3 separate regions of the Homo sapiens genome follow, and regions 2 and 3 are each linked to region 1. The links are contacts of gene promoters, found by promoter capture Hi-C in blood cells and fetal thymus (Javierre and others, 2016). All regions are on one chromosome and are shown on one strand. Each heading gives the region's core, a stretch centred on a gene start or on the middle of the fragment in contact. The rest is flanking DNA. Distances are from core to core; before and after follow the strand shown.

Region 1 (4,918 bases), core at 1,765-4,264:
TATGCGTTAAATTGAGGAGGAGGGCCCATCCAGACAGGTGCTGCTGAACCTCAGGACAGCAGCTGGTCCATCCAGGAGACCTCCCAGGCCTCAGTTCCCATCTAGGGAGGGCCCTAGGTCTGGAGGGACACCAAAGGCATGAGTGTGGTGTGTGGTGCGGTGTCATGTTAGCTATATAATAGTAATAATGATTATTATTACTGTCCCCTGCCCCACCCTCATCAGCCACAGTCTGCCAAACTTGGCCTCAGTTATAAAGCTAAAGGAATCAGCCAGAGAGAGGGGGAGTCAATCACAACAAAGTCACCAGTCTGAGCCCCCATCCCACTTCTACCCCTGCGGCCTAGACTGGCCATTTCAGCAAACTGCCTAGTGATTCTGCAAGGGAATTTTCACAGCCTTGGCGGGTCGGACTCAGATGGGCATTCTTATCTGGATGCTTTGGACTTGGCTAAGTGGCCCAGAGATAAACCCTTAAGAACTAGTGCCTGTGCTTACGCCACCTCCAATTCTAGCTACTATGTGTTCTTTTGGTTCTAAAGGGGCAGTTGGCTCAGGTGAAAACCAGGAATGTCCCTTGGAAGGCAGGAGCAAACAGCCTCAGGACGAACTTTGAAACTATGTAGGTCCTCTGAGGGCAGCCCCAGGGGCCCCATGGTAGCAAAAGGTAGGCCTAGCCAAAGGCTGGGCAAAGCAGGAGCAGGGAGAGCTCCATCCCCCTGGCCATCGCTCCAGGTATCCTGGGAGGCCTCTGCCCAGCACACTAAGTGTCTGCATCTGGCAAAAGAGGGCTTGCTCCTGCCCCATGGAGCTCTCTCCTATTTCTGCTTCTCAAAAAAAAACAGGTGACCAGATGCCTTCTTAATGTCAATATTGCTCATGTTCTCTCCTACAAAAGAGGCCACATAGAAAGAAAGTCTACCCAGCTGTACCCATAAGCAGGAGTGGGACCAAATGGCTACTTGTTCTCAGGAAATTCAGAGCCTTAAAGAGTTAGTTAGGAGAGGCCAGAATGCCGCTGTGTCGTTTGTTTGCTTTGTTTTTAAGGATCTACAGGAGGTAGTTTTCCATAAACTAGGAAGCTAAGTTAACTATGCAAACACAAGCAGGGTGGGCAATGTGAACTGGCCGTTTTAATGTATTTGTACCCGCACGTCCTTGCACAAAAGATCCAAGGCTGCGCGGAGTAATTGCTATTAGAATAGTGGGCATGGTCCCTACCGCCGCAGGTTCGGACCTTCAAAGTGACAATTTATGGATGCTCCCTGGCGCTCCAGCGCAGGGGAAGCCCACTCTGAAGACGCCCTCCCCACCCCCTCCTCTCCTTCCTTCCGACTCAGGAGAGCTCGACACGCCGGATAGCTGCGGCCAGCCGTGGCCATCCTGGCCCCCCGCCTCCGCCTTCCCCACTCCCGCGTGCAGCCGGGACACGGGAAAGGAAAGCTTTGGAAGTCAAGCGCCGGCCAAAAGATGACCTGCCCGCGTGTCTCCTCGCCCCCTCCCCCAGCCGTGTCACATGGCGGCCCCAACCAGGCGGGCAGTGCGCCCCGCCGCGGAGACCCAGGGCCGCGTCGCCTGGGCAGTGGGTGATGAAACTTCCCAGGCGCATTACCGCAGAGGGCGCGGGCGGGGCGCGGGGCGGGGGTGGGGGATCGAGAGCTGGTACCGGGGCTCACCTGTTCTCCAGGAGGAGGGTGGGGACGGGGGGAGGGGCGAGTGCGCGCCAACGCCGGGTGCGTGCCCTGGGGCGCTTGGGCGCGGCGCTCGTGTCCCCGCCCTCCCCCAGCCCTGCGAGCCCCCCGAGCTGCGCCGTGGGGTGACGGGACCGAGAGCAGTTCCTGTCCCCGGCCCCGGCGCGGGGGAGACGTGAGCGTGCACACGTACACACACAGCAGGGGAAGAGGCGCTCCAAGCGGCGCCCAACTTTCTCCTTCCCTCCACGGGCCGGGTGAGAAAGTAGCCGGGGGCTATCCCGACCCGGCGGTTCTTGGGGAGGGGGCCGAACAAGAAAAGGGAGGAGATGGAGATAACTTCCCCGGATTTAGCTTTTTTGTCTTTGTTTTTGTTCTCACCACTTCCATCGGATGACTGGAGAGTAAAAGGGAACCCGGAGCGGGGTGGCGAGCAGCGCTTTGAGAAAATGCAGGAGTGTGTTTGGAGACGCGTAAAGTTGCCTTTCAAGCTCTGGCCTCCGGGCACGCGATGCTCCGCGGCGGGCTGACTCAGGGCTGCCTTGGGCCTCCCTGCCACCCTCCTGGAAATGATGCAAGTCCTGACTGTCACCTGGATCCCTGCAGCCCAGCCTGGAATGCGTCTGGATTAGGGGAAAGACGAGAAACGACACTCCAGGTGTTGCACGGCCCACCAAAGCGGGAAGATAGGGCAGTTGCTCAGACCAAATACTGTATCTAGTGCTTCTGCTCCTATCTTCAATCGTGGGGTTCTTTTTAATGCAAAGTGTCACAAGGCCAGGAATTCCCATGTGTGCTCAGTTGGCCCACAGCATCATTGTGCCTAGGAAACTGCTTCAATTTATCAAGTCCTCTGGGCTGGGAATCTCACTGAATTCCAAACGGCGGAAAGAGGAAACTTTCCCAACCCGATGTGGGTGTGACGCGAGCCAGGGGCCCCAGGGACACTGTCCCAGAGCACACCGTCCCCCTTTAACAGCAACTGGAGCTTGGATTCGCTCTTATATTGTACAGTCCTTTCGACCATTGCCCTGGAGCACCCGCACACGCGCACGCATCTCCGGCCGCGCTCACACACACTCATACACACGCACGCAAACGCGTGGCCGCCGCCAGGTCGGCAACTTTGTCCGGCGCTCCCAGCGGCGCTCGGCTTCCTCCTGTAGTAGTTGAGCGCAGGCCCCGCCTCCCGGCCGTGTTGTCAAAAGGGCCGGGGTCTCGGATTGGTCCAGCCGCCGGGACAACACCTGCTCGACTCCTTCATTCAAGTGACACCAGAGCTTCCAGGGATATTTGAGGCACCATCCCTGCCATTGCCGGGCACTCGCGGCGCTGCTAACGGCCTGGTCACATGCTCTCCGGAGAGCTACGGGAGGGCGCTGGGTAACCTCTATCCGAGCCGCGGCCGCGAGGAGGAGGGAAAAGGCGAGCAAAAAGGAAGAGTGGGAGGAGGAGGGGAAGCGGCGAAGGAGGAAGAGGAGGAGGAGGAAGAGGGGAGCACAAAGGATCCAGGTCTCCCGACGGGAGGTTAATACCAAGAACCATGTGTGCCGAGCGGCTGGGCCAGTTCATGACCCTGGCTTTGGTGTTGGCCACCTTTGACCCGGCGCGGGGGACCGACGCCACCAACCCACCCGAGGGTCCCCAAGACAGGAGCTCCCAGCAGAAAGGCCGCCTGTCCCTGCAGAATACAGGTAAGTGCATGTGCCCCCGCAGCCGGGAGCTACTGGGAGAGGACACCGTGCACCCACGCGGCGCGCCCCAGGCGTTTCGCCGGGAGCCAGGCGCCCACCCAGGGCCACGCAAACTCTTGGGATGGCACGGGACGTGCAAAGGGAAGCGCGAGGCAAGGCGAGGTCCGCGCCGGGCTCCGAGGGCCCGGAATCTGCACGTGCTAGCAGGGTGATGAAATGGCTGGGGCAGGACTTGTTGCTGTCCTCCCCAGGGTCGAGGGGAAATGAAGCAGCGTCTGACGCTGCCAGCGCCAGCCCCCGCCCCCGAATCCCGGGTCCGGTGCAAAGCGCGCTTCATCCCGGCCGGCACGCGGGAGGCCCAGAGGGTCCCCGGAGCTGGGCTGCGCCCTGCGCCCGGAGAACTTCTCTTCCTGGCCTGCCGGCCTCAGTAAGGGTGCCGCGTCTTCCCCCTCCTCAAAAGATGCCCGACATCCCAGAACTTTGCCGGCGAGACAAATGGCATTGCGAACTTTCCCCCTGGGGGCACTGCTTTCGGAAGGGAGCGTGAGGGCAGCGCAAAGCGTACCTCCGCGGTGCTGCCGCCATCCCCAGCTCCTGGCCAGGTCAGCAAGCCAAGAAATGGTGACACGACCCGAACCGTGCGCCTCCTCTGCTCTACCGGCTCTTGGCTCACCGGCAAGCTGCAAAGCAGAGCCAGGCGTGCAGGGCACGGGGCTGGCCCTTTTCCCAGCTCGGAAAGAGAAAGAAAATCTGCCTACAGCTCCTTCGCTCCACGACCCCTCCCCCGACTTTGGGGGGCCGTGTGAACGCGGCAGCGGCGGCGTGCGTGCGCTCACCGCACGAGCTGGAATGCACGAGTGCCCATTAGGGACGCCCCAAGTGAGTGAATGGCGGCCCTGTGCGGTCCTGCCCCGGCGGCGCGTGGGGTCTTACGGATCCTGTCGCCTCCACATGCTGGGGCCGGCACCCCCACCACCCCGAGACCCTCGCCCACCCTCCCCCTCCTCTGGCGCTTCCTCTGAGAACTGAACCTGATTCTCGGTGGTCGGTGACCCTCAACAATACACGCCCCTCATTCTCTGGCTAGATTTAATCTGATGCGGGTTATCTGCTCCGACCCCGCCCTTCTTCCAAAATATACTTTTCTGATGTAATTTTGTGGTTGATTTAAATCAGAGACTTGGGTAGTGGAAAGGGAGGGAAGAGGCTTTGCACGCTGCAGCCTGACAGTTAACTCCCTCCGTCTGCCCCTTCCGAGAGAGGACTGGGGGCCACATTCGGTGAAGGGCTGCAAGCTTCCTCCCGGGCTGCGGGAATTCTAGGGGATTGGGTGATACCTCACCCGGATCCCTAATTAAAAGGAGCCTGCAACCTCTGATAGTGGCGTTTCTGAAGGCTCGCCCCCAGCTGACTCCACTCCTAAGCCTGCTCGCCAACCGCAGCTTCCCTAGCTGGTATTTTAATGCGAAGGGTTGGGAGGCACTGCCTTAATAGGAATTTTGTTTTGATTTTTAGGTGTTGAATCATAAAGCT
Region 2 (4,918 bases), core at 1,342-3,841, 350 kb after region 1:
CTGGGACTACAGGTGTGCACCACCACACCAGCTAATTTTTAAAATGTTTTGTAGAGACAGAGCCTCGCTATGTTGCCCCGGTGGGTCTTAAACTCCTGGCCTGAAGGGATCCTCCACCTCAGCCTCCCAAAGTGCCGGGATTACTGGCATAAGCCACCGTGCTGAGCTGATAAACAGGGCTTAGAACGCTTGCTGAGAATTTTCACATATGTTAGTTATAGTATGCGCCAAGCTTGGAATAGACAAGGAAGCCAGTTCTCAGAGAGGTTGAGGAGCTTGATGATAAAGCTTACAGGTGAAAGCAAGATAGAAAGCAGGTCTTTAAATGCAATGTGCTTTACCAGGGACCATGGTTTCCTTGCAGTAGCCACATTGCATTAACTCCTGATTTCTTTCATCAAGTAGAATGGATTCCTGTATTAAACGGGAAACTGGACCAATAATCTTCAACATCTGTACCAACTTTTCGGACATGATTCTAAGCCTTTAACCTGATCAGCAATGTAGAAAACTAGTTTGTCTCCTTTGTGCTCATAATGCTTCCCCAAAACTTAGCCCCAGCAGAAATCCTATGGTCCTTAAGTTCTAGCCCAAACACCGCCTTCTCCAAGACCCATTTCATCCTGTTAGCGCATCTCTTTGGCCTTGTTGTATATGTATCTTGACCAACCCTCTACTAGAGGGCCAACTCCTTGAGAATAGGCACTGTTTCACTGATCTTTGTTTCCGGGAGGACTTTATACATAGAATGTGCTCAATAAATAACTGTGCAACTGAATTGAGTAGCTAAGAAGGGATGAGGTCAGAACAAAATTAGAGAAAGAAGTTCATTTCTACTTTCTCCTTCCTTCCTTCCTTCCTTCCTTCCTTCCTTCCTTCCTTCCTTCCTCTCTCTTTCTTTCTTTCTTTTTTCTTTTTTTGATGGAATCTCACTCTGTTGCCCAGGCTGGAGTGCAGTAGCATGACAATGGCTCGCTGCAACCTCCACCTCCCTGGTTCAAGCGATTCTCCTGCTGCAGCCTCCTGAGTAGCTGGGATTTACCAGCGCCCTCCACCACACCAGGCTATTTTTTTTTTTTTGTATTTTTAGGAGAGATGGGGTTTCACCATGTTGGCCAGGCTGGTCTCAAACTCCTGACCTCAAGTGATCCGCCCACCTCGGCCTCCCAAAGTGCTGGGATAATAGGAGTGAGCCACCATGCCCAGCCCCTTTCTTTCTTTTTTTTGAGGCAGAGTCGTGCTCTGTCACCCAGGCTGGCATATGGTGGTACAATCATAGCTTACTACTGCCTTGAACTCCTGGGCTCAAGGGATCTTCCCACCTCGGCCTCCATAGTAGCTAGGACTACAGGCGCATGCCACTATGCTGGCCTAATTGTGTGTGTGCGTGTGTGTGCTTGTGTATGTGTGTGTGTGTGTGTGTGTGTATGTGTGTGTAGAGATGGGGTTTCACCATGTTGCCCAGGCTGGTCTCGAACTCCGGCCTCAAGGAATCCTCCTGCCTTGGCCTCCCAAAATGCTAGGATTACAGGTATGAGCTGCCGCAGTCAGGCCCTTTCCTTTTAAAAATGGTAAAATACAGGTAACATAAAAGTTACTATCTTAACCTTTTAATTTATTTTTATTAATTTATTTAGAGACAGGGTCTCGCTGTCATCCAGGTTGGTGTGGTCTTGGCTCACTGCAACCTTCGCCTCCTGGGTTCAAACGATTCTCCTGCCTCAGCCTCCCAAGTAGCTGGGACTACAAGCATGCACCACCACACCCAGCTAATTTTTGTATTTTTAGTTGGAGACGGGGTTTTACCATGTTGCCCAGGCTGGTCTCAAACTCCTGACCTCAGGAGATTTGCCCGCCTTGGCATCCCAAAGTGCTGGGATTACAGGCGTGAGCCACTGCACCCAGCCCAGAACTTTTTCATATCCCTTCAACAACCACTTCTGGCCAGGTGCAGTAGTGAGACCCCCATCTCTACAAAAAATTTAAACAAAAAATTAGCTGGGCATGATGGTGCATGCCTGTAGTTCCAGCTGCTGCGGAGGGTGAGGTGGGAGGATTGCTTGAGCCCAGGAGGTAAAGGCTGCAGTAAGCTGTGATCACGCCACTGCACTCCAGCCTGGTGATAAAGCAAGACTCTGTCTCAAAAAACAAACAAACAAAAAAACAACCACCTCCCATATTCCACCCCCTAGCCCATGGCAAGCACCATTCTACTTTCTGTCTCTGTGAGTTTGACTACTCTAGATTCCTTCAAGAGGAATCATACGGCATTTGTCCTTTTGTGGCTGGCTTATTCACTTAACATAATATCCTCAAGACTCATCCATGTTGTGCAAGTGTCAGAATGTCCCCTTCCTTTTAAAGGCTGAATAATATTCCATGTGTGTATACAGTACGTTTTGTTTATCCATTCATCCATCGATGGACATTTGGGTTGCTTGCACTTTTTGGCTATTGTGAATTCTTTCCCATTTCTTAAACAAGTGGAAATTTTTGTCTTAAATTGATCCCTTTTTGTGTCTAACCTTTGCTTTATCTTCTGGGCAGCCTCTTTGAGAAGCAATGTCTGGAAGTACAAGGATGTAACTCTTTTTTTTTTTTTTCCTTTTTTTTTGAGACAGAGTTTTGCTCTTGTTGCCCAAGCTGGAGTGCAATGGCACGATCCCAGCTCACTGCAACCTCCGCCTCCTGAGTTCAAGTGATTCTTCTGCCTCAGCCTTCTGAGTAGCTGGGATTACAGGCACGTGCTACATGCCCAGCTAATTTTTATTTTTATTTTTATTTTTTAGTAGAGATGGGGTTTTGCCATGTTGGCCAGGCTGGTCTCGAACTCCTGACCTCAGGTGATCCACCTGCCTCGGCTTCCCAAAGTGCTGGGATTACAGGGGTCAGCCACCGCACCCGGCCAGGGATGTAACTCTGTTGTTGTTGTTGTTGTTTTTTGAGATGGAGTCTCGCTCTGTCTCCCAGGCTGGAGTGCAGTGGCGTGATCTCGGCTCACTGCAACCTCTGCCTCCCGGGTTCATGCCATTCTCCTGCCTCAGCCTCCCGAGTAGCTGGGACTACAGGCAGCCACCACCACGCCCGGCTAATTTTTTGTATTTTTAGTAGAGACGGGGTTTCACCGTGTTAGCCAGGATGGTCTCGATTTCCTGACCTTGTGATCCGCCCGCCTCGGCCTCCCAAAGTGCTGGGATTACAGGCGTGAGCCACCGCGCCCGGCTGGATGTAACTCTTTAGACACCAATTCTGTCTAAATCTGTTGGTTTCATCTGTGAAAGGAGAAAAGTTAGTATCTCAGTATTATATATGTGGGCTAGCATTAGCCTATAGCTCCCTCTATCAGCCAGTCTGTCAAAAGCATTTTATCACACACCAAATGAAAACTGTCCCCATTCAGTGACCCATCAAATGAAGAGATACTGTCTGCCCTCAAGGTGCTAAAGTCTTCAGGAAACAAATCAGACTCTGGACAGTGTGGTCCAAGGACCCTTGGGGAGTCCCTGAGACTCCCCAAGCAGGTCTTTTTCTTTCTTTCTTTCTTTTCTTTCTTTTCTTTCTTTTCTTTCTTTTCTTTCTTTTCTTTCTTTTCTTTCTTTTCTTTCCTTTCTTTCCTTTCTTTCCTTTCTTTCTTTCTTTCTTTCTTTCTTTCTTTCTTTCTTTCTTTCTTTCTTTCTTTCTTTCTTTCTTTCTTTCAGATGGAGTCTTACTCTGTCACCCAGGCTAGAGTGCAGTGGCGTGATCTCGGCTCATTGCAACCTCCATTTCCTGGGTTCAAGCAATTCTCCTGCCTCAGCCTCCCATGTAACTGGGATTACAGGCGACTGCCACTGCTCCCAGCTAATTTTTGTATTTGTAGTGGAGGTGGGGTTTTACCATCTTGGCCAGGCTGGTCTCAAACTCCTAACCTCGTGATCCACCCACCTTGGCTTCCCAAAGTGCTGGGATTACAGGCATGAGCCACCATGCCTGGCCACCCCAGCAGGTCTTTTCTAACTGTGAATCTCTGTAAGGCTGAATTTTCTTCCTGTAGTTCATCTAAAACAACATATCACATCAGATTGAATGCAGTAGTATTATGAGAATGCATTTGTCTTCTATTAAACCAGAGGTCAAGGCGTTCTCCCAAAATGTAACACAATGTTACTCTTCCAACCACATGTTTTGTTAGTTTTGGAAAAAACAGCTATTTCTCATATAAATGTTATGTTAACATGTTATGGGTTTCTTGTTGCTCTTTTTGTATGAATTTAAAATAAATATGTTGGCCAGATGCAGTGACTCGCGCCTATAATCCCAGTGCTTTGGGAGGCTAAAGCAGGAGGATCACTTGAGGCCAGGAGTTCCAGAGCAGCCTCGGCAACATAGTGAGACCTCCATCTCTACAAGAAACAATTTTGATGTGGTGTTATCTCCTGTAGTCCTAGCTACTTAGGAGGCTGAAGAGGGAGGATTGCTTGAACCCACAAGTTCAAGGTTACAGTGAGCTATAATTGCACCATTGCACTACAGCCTGGGTGAAGACTGAGATCTTGTCTCAAATAATAATAATAATAATATAATAAAATTAATATGTTAAAATTTGAAGTTTTAATTTCTAACATGACAAATATCAATAGCTATAACCTATATAAATGTAAGTCCCTTGGGTCCTCCATAGTTTTTAAATATGTAAACAGGTCTTGAGACCAAAAAGTTTGAGAAGCACCACTAGAGGAAAAACCTCAGAGGCCCCCCAGCAGCATCAAGGAAACAAGAGTTGACTGAAACACTATTGTGCAACGAGCTGAGGAGCCCTTCTTTCCTAAACTCAGTCCTGTAGGTAAAAACAGGCATGCAGAGTCACGAAGATATGGTGTCATAAAGCCCCTTTCCAAGCTACTCTGGAAGCTTGGAAGTTACTGGGGCAGCTGAAAAC
Region 3 (4,918 bases), core at 1,677-4,176, 260 kb before region 1:
TCCTTTATCTTCTGATGCTTTACTGGCAGTATTTGGTGTTCCTTGGCTTTTAGATGTATCAACCCAATCTCTGCCTTCATCTTTGCATAGTGTTCTCCCTGTGTGCATGTCTGTCTGTGTGTCTAAGTTTCCCCTTTCACCAGTTATACTGGATTAGAGCCCACTTTAATGATCTGGTCTTCACTTGATCAGCTGCAAAGATCCTATATCCAATAAGATCACCTTCATAGGTATACTAGGGGTTAAGACTAACTTCAACAAAATTTTGGAGATCACAGTTTAATCCATGGTACCATCTTAACAATATTAAGTCTTCCAATCCATGAACATGAGATGTCTTTCCATTTTTTTAGGTCTTGTTTAATTTCAATCAACAATGTTTTATAGCTTTCAGAGTATAAGTTTTGCACTTATTTTGTTAAGTATTTTCTTGGTGTTTTATTGTTTTTGATGCTATTATTGTAAATTGAGGTTTTTAAAATTTTGTTTTTCTTTTACGCATTACTGTTGTATCAAAATACAATGAATTTTTGTATATTAATCTTGTATCCTGCAACCTTGCTGAGCTCATTTATTAGTTCTAATAGTTTTCTAGTGCATTCCTTAGGTTTTTTTTAATCTGCAAGTATGGATAGCTTACTTCTATTCTGATGTGGATGCCTTTTATTTCCTTTTCTTTCCTATTAATTTTCTTTTGTCTTGATTTCTGTATCAAGACAATTTTCTTTTTCTTCATGTGGTACACATTTGTGTAAGCCATCCCAAATTATTTTTGGAACAAGATAGGATCTAAATTAACACACTTAAAAAATAGAACTTATGCTCTATTCATATAGTCTTTTTTCTCTCAACTAATTCAGAGGTATCGAATTTTGACAATAATTTTTTTCTGTGAAGAAATTTTAGGGAAAAAATTCCTGATGTTCTAGTAATTTAATTATCTACAAAAATGTTGATAGCAACCATTATTCTTCAAAATGCTGCTTTGGAAAAAGGATAATATATAAGTAGATTTCACCCTGGAAAAAAAACACTAAATATTTAAATATATATTATAATAGCATCATGTTATCATATTATCATTAAGAAGGCTACAGAAACTCCGAGTTCATGAAGTAGGTCTTTCTTGTGCTGTTCTCATGATGGTGAATAAGTCTCATGAGGTCTAATGGTTTTATAAAGAGGAGTTCCCCTGCACAAGCTCTCTCTCTTTGCCTGCCACCATCCACGTAAGATGTGAGTTGCTCCTCCATGCCTTCCACCATGATCGTGAGGCCTCCCCAGCCATGTAGAACTGTAAGCCCATTAAACCTCTTTCTTTTGTAAATTGCCCAGTCTCAGATATTCTTTATCTCAGTGTGAAAATGGACTAAGATAGTAAATTGGTACTAGTAAAGTGGGACACTGCTGAAAAGGTACCTGAAAATGTGGAAGCAACTTTAGAACTGGGTAACAGGCAGAGGTTGGAACAGTTTGGAGGGCTCAGAAGAAGAAACTAAAATATGGGAAAGTTTGGAACTTCCTAGAGACTTGTTGAATGGCTTCGACCAAAATGCTAATAATGATATGGACAATAAATCCAGGCTGAGGTGGTCTCAGATGGAGATCAGGAACTTATTGGGAACTGGAGCAAAGGTGATTCTTGTTATGTTTTAGCAAAGAGACTGGTGGCATTTTGCCCCTACCCTAGAGATTTGTGGAACTTTGAACTTGAGAGAGATGATTTAGGGTATCTGGCAGAAGAAACTTCTAAGCAGCAAAGCATTCAAGAGGTGACTTGGGTGCTGTTAAAGGCATTCAGTTTTAAAAGGGAAACAGAGCATAAAAGTTTGGAAAATTTACAGCCTGACAATGCAATATAAAATAAAATCCCATTTTTTGAGGAGAAATTAAAGTTGGCTGCAGAAATTTATTTGCATAAGTAACGAATGAGGACCCGAATGTTAATCGCCAAGACAATGAGGAAAATATTTCTAGGTCATGTCAGAGACCTTTGTGGCAGCCCTTCTCATCACAGGCCCAGAGGTTTAAGAGGAAAAAATGGTTTTGTGGGCCAGGTCCAGGGTCCCTCTGCTGTGTGCAGTCTAGGGACTTGATGCCCTGTGTCCCAGCTGCTCCAGCCATGACTAAAAGGGCCAAGGTACAGCTCAGCCTGTTGCTTCAGAGGGTGGAAGCCCCAAGCCTTGGCAGCTTCTATGTGGTGTTGTGCCTGTAGGTGCACAGAAGTCAAGAATTGAGGTTTGGGAACCTCTGCCTAGATTTCAGGGGATGCATGGAAATGCATGGATGTCCAGGTAGAAGTTTGCTGAAGGGGCGGGGCTCTTATGGAGCACCTCTGCTACAGCAGTGCAGAAGGGAAATGTGGGGTCAGAGCCCCCACACAGAGTCCCTACTGGGGCTCTGCCTAATGGAGTTGTGAGAAGAGGGCCATTGTCCTCCAGACCCCAGAATGGTAGATCTACCAACACCTTGCACCATACTCCTGGAAAGGCTGCAGGCACTCAACAGCCCATGAAAGCAGCCAGGAGGGAGGCTATACCCTGCAAAGCCACAGAAGCAAAGCTGCCCAAGACCATGGGAACCCACCTCTTGCATCAGCATGACCTGGATGTGAGACATGAAGTCAAAGGAGATCATTTTGGAACTGTAGGATTTGACTGCCCCACTGGATTTCAGACTTGCATGGAGTCTGTAGCCCCTTTGTTTTGGCCAATTTCTCCCATTTGAAATGGCTGTATTTACTCAATGCCTGTACCCCCATTGTAGCTAGGAAGTAACTAATTTTTTTTTTTTATTTTACAGGCTTATAGGTGGAAGGGACTTGCCTTTTCTCAGATGAGACTTTGGACTGTGGACTTTTGAGTTAATGCTGAAATGAGTTAAGACTTTGGGGGCCTGTTGGGATGGCATGATTGGTTTTGAAATGTGAGGACATGAGATTTGGGAAGGTCCAGGGGCAGAATGATATGGTTTGGCTGTGTCCCCACCCAACTCTCATCTTGAATTGTAATTCCCACAATTCCCACATGTCATGGGAGGGACCCAGTGGGAGTGAATTGAATCATGGGGGTGGGTCTTTCTTGTGCTGTTCTCATGATAGTGAGTAAGTCTCATGAGATCTGATGGTTTTATAAAGAGGAGTTCCCCTGCACAAGCTCTCTCTTTGCCTGCTGTCATCCTTGTAAGATGTGACTTGCTCCTCCCCACCTTCCACCATGATTGTGTGACCTCCCCAGCCATGTGGACTATAAGTCCATTAAACCTCTTTTTCTTCCCAGTCTCAGGTATGCCTTTATCAGCAGCATGAAAACAGGCTAATATATACCCCCAAAGTTAGATACTTTATCATATTACAGTTGTGTGGATTTGGATTTGCAGGACTCAGCTGGTTGATTCTCTTGATGAATGTGGTGCCAACGGAGGTCACTCCATGGTAATCAGCCTGTAGGTGTGCTGGGCTGGTCTAGAGATCCCAGGATGGCTTCACTTACATGTCTGGTGACATTGGCTGGTGGGGGCTGGCTGCAAGGCTGGGCTCAGCTAGGACCACAAACAGAGCTCCTGAACATGGTTTCAGCAACCTGGTGGTATTAGGGCAGTTGATTACATGGCAGCTTCAAGCTCCCAGAGAGTGTCCTAAGAGAGGTGAAGTGAACTGCCACCCTCTAAAAAGCCCAGGCCTGGAAACTGACAAGCACCACTTCTGCTGTATTCTGTTGGTCAAGTAGTCACAAGCCTGCCCAGGGCACCCCACCTCACCTCTCCATGCAGGGAGTGACAAGGAATTTGGGACCATCTTCAATCCACTACAGTCCCCATTCTCCACTTGCAGTCCGAATTCCCCCACAGGCAGCCTTTCTGTGTATCTGATGTGCGTCCTTGAATTTGAACATAGTGTCTAACGTAAGCTACCTAAATCTGTGTGGACATCCCCTTCCTTGCTTCTGACTGATAGATGCTTCTCCAAGGTGTACACCCACCACATTTACTTCTGTCTTCCCCAGGGATGGGTGCCTGAGTGGCCAACGCCCCTGCCAGAAACAATGCTGAATGAGCACCTCCCCACATGCCCCTTTTGGACAAAAAGTGTCTCTGCGCCGCATACCGAGGAGTGGCATTGCTGTGGGCAGAAGACTTACGCAGTCGACTTGAACCAGCACCATCAGACAGCCTCCGGAGTGGCTGCACCTTCTCATACTCCCTTGCAGAGAACAAGGGTTCCTCTTCCCCCCCTACTCCAGCTAACACTTGGCATTAGCTGACTTTCTAATTTTTGCTGACCTGATGAGTGTACAGAGTAAAGTTTCATGTTGAACTTTTAAAACAAAGGGGGAAAATACAGAGGGAAAAGAATAGGAAGGAAAGTGGTTAGGAGGGAAGGAAATGGCAGCTGGCTAAGTGGGAAGAATTGGGAAGTCAAGTTTTCTGGACTGCACAGTACCCTACAGAATCCTAGGGGCCATCAGAGCAGCTGCAGGTCACCTTGTGGAAAAGTGCAAAATACAGTTTAGACATTTGGAATTTGGCTTCCTGGCAGCCTGGCTGGAAGGTGTTGGTTCCACAGGGCCAAGGCTGGCTGTGCCTGCCTCCCTCTGGGTCCTGGAAGCTGAGGGAGGTGGACCAGCCTCCAGCTCCCAGGTTCTTATGCTCCTCCTATTTATCTCTCAGTCCTTTCCTGGCAGCCAGAGAGTCCATCTTTAGCGGGGACCTGTACAGTATTGTTTTAATCTTCAGCTCTCTCTGCTTCCTCTCTGTTCCCTTCCTCCCTTCCTCTTCTCCTTGTCTACCACACAGAACAGATGTGGAAAAAGCCAGGCCTTTAGGAACATCTGCTGAGACACCAGCTGCCTTCCTCCTGGGCTAAGGAAACTGTGACCCCTCTGATTATTGGGTTTCATCCAAGGACCTCAGTTCTCTG

The links. The method cuts DNA at HindIII sites, captures the fragments that hold promoters and counts their contacts. A CHiCAGO score of 5 or more calls a contact.
Region 2: a contact is called between a fragment that was not itself captured here and the fragment with the promoter of STC2 in region 1, in 1 of 17 cell types (endothelial precursors). The highest score is 5.6, in endothelial precursors.
Region 3: a fragment that was not itself captured here is called in contact with the fragment with the promoter of STC2 in region 1 in 1 of 17 cell types (endothelial precursors); the score reaches 7.9 in endothelial precursors.

Annotation. Positions count from the first base shown.
Region 1 is chr5:173,326,510-173,331,427 of GRCh38, reverse strand. STC2 (stanniocalcin 2) reads left to right here and starts at 3,014. Exons shown (of 4, transcript NM_003714.3): 1 at 3,014-3,385. The coding sequence starts at 3,235. It overlaps LOC124901137 (a long non-coding RNA gene), which reads right to left and starts at 2,829. Exons shown (of 2, transcript XR_007059056.1): 1 at 1,677-2,829. RefSeq lists a silencer at 1,601-1,820. The HindIII fragment of the contact is 3,237 bases long and covers 1,446-4,682 here.
Region 2 is chr5:172,977,355-172,982,272 of GRCh38, reverse strand. No RefSeq gene overlaps it. Among named protein-coding and RNA genes, the nearest start is that of ATP6V0E1, 4.0 kb to the left of the region's middle. The HindIII fragment of the contact is 4,602 bases long and covers 291-4,892 here.
Region 3 is chr5:173,583,473-173,588,390 of GRCh38, reverse strand. LINC02995 (long intergenic non-protein coding RNA 2995) reads right to left here. Exons shown (of 4, transcript NR_027108.2): 3 at 4,483-4,918; 4 at 3,323-4,281. Among named protein-coding and RNA genes, the nearest start is that of LINC02995, 6.3 kb to the right of the region's middle. The HindIII fragment of the contact is 7,137 bases long and covers 1-4,918 here.